2 separate regions of the Homo sapiens genome follow, and region 2 is linked to region 1. The links are contacts of gene promoters, found by promoter capture Hi-C in human tissues and cell types (Jung and others, 2019). All regions are on one chromosome and are shown on one strand. The core of a region is centred on a gene start or on the middle of the fragment in contact, and the rest is flanking DNA. Distances in the headings are between cores, read along the strand shown. Region 1 holds the start of ACOT7 (acyl-CoA thioesterase 7). Region 2 overlaps DNAJC11 (DnaJ heat shock protein family (Hsp40) member C11).

What was found. The method cuts DNA at HindIII sites, captures the fragments that hold promoters and counts their contacts. A contact is called where the count stands out against the background at its distance.
Region 2: a contact is called between a fragment that was not itself captured here and the fragment with the promoter of ACOT7 in region 1, in 1 of the 25 tissues and cell types used here (pancreas).

Annotation. Positions count from the first base shown.
Region 1 is chr1:6,391,904-6,395,738 of GRCh38, forward strand. It overlaps ACOT7 (acyl-CoA thioesterase 7), which reads right to left and starts at 1,864. Exons shown (of 9, transcript NM_007274.4): 1 at 1,354-1,864. The coding sequence starts at 1,496. RefSeq lists silencers at 1,175-1,264, 1,535-1,984 and enhancers at 1,213-1,724, 1,725-2,237, 2,238-2,748, 3,501-3,835. The HindIII fragment of the contact is 35,573 bases long and covers 1-3,835 here.
Region 2 is chr1:6,643,829-6,647,663 of GRCh38, forward strand. DNAJC11 (DnaJ heat shock protein family (Hsp40) member C11) reads right to left here. Exons shown (of 16, transcript NM_018198.4): 8 at 1,961-2,150; 9 at 1,213-1,298; 10 at 730-846. Among named protein-coding and RNA genes, the nearest start is that of THAP3, 21 kb to the left of the region's middle. RefSeq lists an enhancer at 2,285-2,784. The HindIII fragment of the contact is 9,696 bases long and covers 1-3,835 here.

The sequences.
Region 1 (3,835 bases), core at 614-3,113:
AGGAACCTGATGCAGGCTGTCTGTCTCCAGTTATTTCCTTTTTTTTTTTTGCCCCGCTTTCCCCACCTCCAGAGTCGATGGGACCAGAACAGCCACAGAGCCAAAGTCAAAGGGGCAGGGCTCCCCCAAAGACGTTCCCCCTCTGGAAAAGTCAAAACCGACCTTGAGGTAAGGAGAGGCCCTCGACCAGGCCAGAAGATGAGACTGAGAGTCAAGAATCGCCATAGACCCAGGACTTGCTATATGCCCAGCCTTCCTGGAGATGTCAACATCTACAGGAAAGTAACTTGCTTCTATTGGACTTGGCTTGAGCCCAAGGTCAGTCTGTGATGCCCAACCCCCAAATGTGAGGAACCCACTACCAAAACAGAAAGCAGCTCTCACTCCTGGTAGTTCATCAAGCAGGATAGGACCGGTCGCAGGCCACAGAGCCTGTGTGCAGTGGCTGAAAACCTAGACTCCTTGTCCTCACTTAGCTCATGCACAAATGCCAGCCTGCTGCTTCCGATTCTGCCGAAGAGAACTGCAGAGTAACCTTCAGGCTGCCCTCCCCACCTCCTATGGGAAATGAGCTTGTTCATGATCTCCAGCCTCCAGCTTCCTCTGGGGGCCTGCATCTATCTACTCAGTACCTGGTGGAAGAAGAGGGGGTGCTCTAGAAGGACAACCCTTTGCCTCTATTGTGTAAGATGCTTTCAGGCCCAACAGACCACTGATTCCCTTTTCTTCATAGTAAACTGTTAGAGGTAGACAGTATTATCTGTTCTTCCTTTCAACACCTGCCCTCCCCCAAACCGAAGCAGTGCACTGAAGACGGTAGCTCTGCAACCTCCTCCCACAGGGGCACCCACCGAGGGGCTCGCGCGGCTCTGGGCACCTCCCCTCCACCTCTGGGGGCTTTGGTTAGCGCAGCACAACCGCCGAGGTAATGATCCCGAATCCTCGAGGAGGCTAAGCAGGACCACGGGGCTGAGGCTCCGGGATGCTCGGGCGAGGCCCGAGGCGGGGCGGCCCACGGGCGCCGGTCGCCGGGCTCTGGAGCTGTGCATTGACCTCCGCCCGCCCCGTCCCTGCCTGGCTTTCTCGCCCAAACGGCCCGTGGCGCGGCCGCCGCCCTGGAGATGCGGCCAGGAGGAGCCGGCTGGAGGCGGGCGGGGGCCGCCCGGCTTGTGCGGCATCGCGAGTCGCATCCCGGCCGGGCGGGCGTCCGGGGCGGCGGCGCGGAAGGCCGTGCGGGGAATCGGCGGGCGGGGGCGGCCTCGGCGGGTGGGGACCACAGAGCCAAGCGGGGCAGGCCTGGGGCGGTGACCGGCGCGCCTGGCCGCTGCAGGCTGCGCGCGGGCCCTCTCTTACCGGCAGATCTGGATGGCGGACGGCGTCTCGACGTCTGGGCCCGACATGCTGGGGGCTGCGGCGGCGGATGCGGCGGGCGGCTGCAGAAGGGCGCAGGTGTCTGGCAGGCCCGGCGCGGAATGAATGAGCCCGGGCCGCGCCATAAAGGGGGAGGGCAGAGGTGGAGCGATGGGGCTGGTGAGGCGGGGCCTGCGCGCCGGGGGCAATCGAACGCGGCCTCCCCGCGCCGACCCCGCCCCCGCGCCGGCCCCACCCCGAGCCCCGCCTCCCAGGCCGCCAAGGCTGCAGAGAGCTCGCGCGGGCGTACGATTCTGGCGGCGTGGGGGCCCAGGCAGCCGCCGCTTCCAGAAGGTTCGGTGGCGGTTGGGCCGCGCCGGTGCGGGGAAGGCCCGCTAGCCGCGGCAGCCGCGCCCGACCCGGTGGCAGCCCCGAGGGAAGCGTCTGGGGCGGCCTAAGTGGCGGAGCAGGGCGGACTTGGGCCCTCACTCTCCGCGCGGCGGTAAATATTTGTGCTGGGCGTTCCCGGCCGCCCGCGCCGCCGATTCGCTGCCGCGCCCAGTGCCTGGGCGGCCGGATGAGGTCAGAGCGGAAGGCGCGGCCCGGGCTCCTGGCAGTGGGGCCTGATTCCCACCCCCGCCCCCAACCCACCCCGGCACCAGTCGCCCGCATCGCGGCTCTCGCTAAGATCGGCCCTAAGAGAGAATGGAAGGCTGTTTCCTAGAAAGGAGCATTGGTGGCGGCTGCTGGGAAGACACGGGGAATGGAACGGGCCTTTGCTTCCGCAGCACAAAGCGTCACGAGGTGGGGAGGAGGAAAGGCCGGCGACTATCTACACCGCCGCCTGCAGCTTTTACTGGGAGCGCTGAGCGCCAGCCTGGAGGTGCACGTGTTGCAGTGAGGAGCCCTGAAACATGCGTGTTTTACTGCACAAGATGTGCCCTTGAATGGAGTCTAGGCCAGTCGGGGTCACCAAAAAAAATCCACCAAAAAACACCCAAGAAGGGAGAAGCGGTCACCCCCCACGTGCTGGAATGACAGCTTTTTACTTGCTAGGCAGTTGGACCTTTTCCGAATTTTCTACAATGCACATAGATTTGTACTTACATCTTTAAATTAAAACCCACGCAACTCCGGCTCCCTAGTGCAATTTGAACAACCCATTTACACTCAGCTAGGTAGCTCTGAAGGAACTGTGCCTCACCCCGGTCACCCTTGAGTTACCAGACCGTGGAGGCAGCCCACAGCATGATCTGTAGCTCCCAGAAGCAGGGGCAGTCAAAGTCAGAACTCTGTGATTTCAAGACTTTTATACTAAGAATTTTGTTTTTCTGTTTTCTTTTTTTTTTTTTTTTTTTGAGACGGAGTCTTGCTCTGTTGCCCAGGCTGGAGTGCAGTGGTGCAATCTCAGCTCACTGCAAGCTCCGCCTCCCAGGTTCACGCCATTCTCCTGCCTCAGCCTCCCAAGTAGCTGGGACTACAGGCGCCTGCCACCACGCCCGGCTAATTTTTTGTATTTTTAGTAGAGACGGGGTTTCACTGTGTTAGCCAGGATGGTCTTGATCTCCTGACCTTGTGATCTGCCCGCCTCTGCCTCCCAAAGTGGTGGGATTACAGGCGTGAGCCACCACGCCTGGCCTGTTTTCTTTTTTTGATATAGAGTCTCGTTCTGTCGCCCAGGCTGGAATGCAGTGGTGTGATAGCTCACTGTAACCTCTGCCATCCAGTTTCAAGCAATTCTCCTGCCTCAACCACACTGAGTAGCTGGGACCATAGGCATGCACCACCACGTTTGGCTTATTTTTGTATTTTTAGTACAGATGTGTCCAGAATTGGTGGGTTCTTGGTCTCACCGACTTCAAGAATGAAGCCGCGGACCCTCGTGGTGAGTGTTACAGCTCTTAAGGTGGCGCATCTGGAGTTTCTTCCTTCTGGTGGGTTCGTGGTCTCCCTGGCTCAGGAGTGAAGCTGCAGACCTTCACAGTGAATGTTAACGGCTCATAAAGGCAGTGTGGACCCAAAGAGCGAAAGAACAACACTCCTACAGCGTGGAAGGGGACCAGAGTGGGTTGCCACTGCTGGCTCGGGCAGCCTGCTTTTATTCTCTCATCTAGCCCTACCCACATCCTGCTGATTGGTAGAGCAGAGTGGTCTGTTTTGACAGGGTGCTGATTGGTGTGTTTACAATCCCTGAGCTAGACACAAAGGTTCTCCATGTCCCCACCAGATTAGCTAGATAGAGTGTCGACACAAAGGTTCTCCAAGTCCCCACCAGCGTAGTTAGATACAGAGTGTTGATTGGTGCATTCACAAACCCTGAGCTAGACACAGGGTGCTGATTGGTGTGTTTACAAACCTTGAGCTAGATACAGAGTGCCGATTGGTGTATTTACAATCCCTTAGCTAGACATAAAGGTTCTCCATGTCCCCACCAGACTCAGGAGCCCAGCTGGCTTCACCCAGTGGGTCCCGCACTGGGGCTGCA
Region 2 (3,835 bases), core at 461-2,960, 250 kb after region 1:
CTATGCACTGCTTGACATTTGCTTACTCAGCAAAGACACAAGCAACTGTATTTTTTTTTTGAGATGGAGTCTCACTCTGTCACCCGGGCTGGAGTGCAATGGAGCGATCCTGGCTCACTGCAAGCTCCGCCTCCTGGGTTCAAGCGATTCTCCTGCCTCAGCCTCCCGAGTACCTGGGACTACAGGCACCCGCCACCACCCCTGGCTAATTTTTTGTATTTTTAGTAGAGATGGGGTTTCACCATGTTAGCCAGGATGGTCTCGATCTCCTGACCTCGTGATCCACGGCACCTGGCTGAATTTTTTTTTTTATATTTTTTGAGACGGAGTCTCACTGTCCTCCAGGCTGGAGTGCAGTGGCACGATCTCCATCTCAGCTCACTGCAACCTCCGCCTTCGGGTTCAAGCAATTCTCCTGCCTCGGCCTCCCAAATAGCTGGGATTATAGGCGTGTGCCACCACGTCTGGCTAATTTTTGTATTTTCAGTAGAGATGGGGTTTCACCACGTTGGCCAGGCTGGTCTCAAACTCCTGACCTCAGGCGATCCGGCCGCCTTGGCCTCCTAAAGTGCTGGGATTACAGGCATAAGCCACTGCACCTAGCCAAGCAACTGTGTCTTTAAGAACAAAATTACAATGCAAAGGCTATTTCAGCCTTAACTTGGGTAAAGCCTGGTTGAGTGAAGGTGACAGGCATTCCTTGACCCGAAAGGCCTAAGTTCAACTTACTTGACTTTGAGAGAAACACCCTGTGGAACTCCAACGCTGACAGCTGCACCCAAAACGCTGTGCCTGGAGATCTTCCTCTCAGCTCCGTACTCCACCACCGTCCCAAAGAAGCCTGCTCTGCAGGGAGAGAACGCGGTCTGTGCCTGTGCCCCTCATTCATCACTTCAGGGGCAGCTGTCATTTGAGAAGAGGCCAGGTACCTTCCCTTCCCTCCCTCCAGCCTCCTCGACCCCCAGGGAGCAGATTCATGACAGAAGAAAGTTGGGACACCCATGGTCTAGTTCTTCCACAACACTCTCTAAGCTCCTCAAGGGCTGGGACTGTAGTGTTAAATCCCCCACAGCCTCAAAATAGGAAGCTCTCCAAAAATGTCACACACACGTAGATATTCACACGAGCAAGGTGTCTTACACCAACTGGTTCCACTGTGAAGACCCGCATGCAGTACCAGTGTGCTTCCATTTTAGCCAGGCCAGGACTTACTTGAGGGATCCTTTCACACGAGTCTGATCGTCATCTTGGAATTTGTGCTGATAGCTGATCAGTGCAAAGGAGTGAGGGATTCCCAGCTGGGGAGACAGAGGGTGCAAGGATGCGTGGCTAGGGCGTGTGACTCTGTGGGGAGATGGGTATCTGCCCTCCCACTAGCTCTGGGCATCTGCTGCACACAGGCCTTTAAGGCAGGGGTCACGGTCTGGCAGCCGCAGTGAGTGCACCATGATTTATTAGCAGCCAGTAATTAAAAAGTGGGAGACTTCACTGAAAACCCAGTTTTCTAGCTTCTCACAAGAAATAAAAAACTCTGGTGACACTGAGCCTATGCTCCTAGGTGGCAGCGGCTGGTGAGAGCCAAGGAGCAGTGGCCCGTGTGGGGCTTCTCATGTACCAGCCCTGGTGTGGCCACAGGGGCGTCCGAGGGCATGATTCTGCTATGGGGCTTCATCTGCCCGCCCCCAATTCCGTGGGTGGCTCCCACCAGACATTAAGATGTTGTTCTGCTTTAAGATGATCCAACAAAGCTGCCCCAGGCGCCTGAAGGCAACTGCATTTCATACTCGAAGGTTCCACCAGGTCACTCGAGTGTGAGCACCGAGAGCCTGCCCCTCAGGGCCCTGTATGGGCTTAGACTTAGTGGTGATCAGGACGCAGGATTTAAGGGGAGCACTGAGTGCTTGGGAGGAGGGGTCCTCCCAGAGCTCTGTCTGCAGGAGATGATGGCTGCTCGGCTCACCTGCAGGGCCACAGTGAAGTGGCTGGTTTTAGTGTCTCGGACGATGCTAGTGTTCATGGCTGACTGGATACCCCATCGCCACTGCAGGTAGCCCACGGTGTTCTTGTCTAGGTTCCGAGCTAGGACAGTGGTCAGGCCGGGTCGGATTCCACGGGATGAAAACTGCAGAGCACAGTTTGTTGTCACAAAGCTGGAGAGACACAGAGACAGAATAGGTCCTGGATAGCACCTGCTCTCAGCTGTTCTGTTACTTCCTCTCTGCCTGGCTAAGACCTCACTTACTGTCACGTCTATGCATCCCTGGGCCAGCTCCCAGTAAAAAAAAAAGCAGGAGGTCAGGCCTCTATCCACACAGAGGGGGAGGGTCCTAGCCAGAATCTTCCTAGTAACCTCCCGACTCCCCTCAGCCGCCCTAACTTTAGCTACAACCAAATAGGCACCTGACTGTCTGCATTCCTATGCCAGCAGATGCAACCCCACTCAAGTTAGAATGGATGGGGGCCGAGGAGTGCAAGTCAGAATCACCAACGGAGGGTCTCATATTAAGCAGTCCAAGACAGTGGTGCTCATACTGCACGCTGGAATCACCTGGCTCATCCACAAATCACGGCTGGTGGCTTCTTCGCCGGCATGCTGATTCCTTCAGTGTGGGCTTGGAGTGCTAAGTGTCCCAATGATTCCAATGTGCAGTAGAGTTTGAGAATCACTTACCTAGAGGACACCCCAGACCTATGGAACCAGAATTTCTGGGTGGAGGCATCAGTATATTTTTGGAGCTGCTGTGTGATTTCTGATGTACTAGTGACCACAGCTGGGTACTAGTGACAGAAACTACAGGCAAAGCGAGCACAGGAAACCGGTTCCCGAAAAGAGCCTCTGCAGTTTCTTTCCAAGGGAGTCCAGCCCCATCTTCTGGTTGAAAAGAGGTATTTCATTTTACTAACAGAAATTCACACTTCATTCAAGGTGCTGAAGGGTAAACTAACAGCTGGTTTCTTTAATAAAGAGCTCCACATCAATTGCCTAAGTTTCTTTCTCTCCTTTCTAAGCTCTGGAGGTGATGTTTATGCCATTAAAATAACAGTAGGCAGGCTCATTGGCTCACACCTGTAACCCCAGCACTTTGGGAGGCTGAGGAGGCAAATTGCTTCACCCCAGGAGTTCAAGGACAGCCTGGACAACATGACAAAACCCCCATCTCTACAAAAAAGACACAAAATTAGCCAGGTGTAGCGGCACGCCCTGTAGTCTCAGCGACTGAGGAGGAAGGAGCACTTGAGCCTGGACAGGTCTTTTTTTTTTTTTTTTTTTTTTGACGGAGTTTCGCTCGTCCAGGCTGGAGTGCAGTAGCGTGATCTTCTCAGCTCACTGCAACCTCCGCCTCCTGGATTCAAGTGATTCTCCTGCCTCAGCTTCCTGGGTAGCTGGGACTACAGGCGCCCACCACCATGTCCGGTTAATATTTTGTATTTTTAGTAGAGATGGGGTTTCACCATGTTGGCCAGACTGGTCTCGAATTCCTGCCCCCAGGTGATCCACCTGCCTCAGCCTCCCAAAGTGCTGGGATTATAGGCACGAGCCACTGTGCCCAGCCAACAGGTCGATATTTTTGATTTAAGATGGCTTATTCGGCCGTAACTCCATCGTAAATCAAGGAACATCTGCAACTTGATCCAAGGATTAGAGGACCGTGGTTAGCAGACATCCATAACTAACCTGGCCACTATATATTAAGAAACTGGGCTAGTAGGCCGGGCGCGGTGGCTCACGCCTGTAATCCCAGCACTTTGGGAAGCCGAGGTGGGTGGATCACAAGGTCAAGTGATTGAGACCATCCTGGCCAACATGGTGAAACCCCGTCTCTAGTAAAAATAC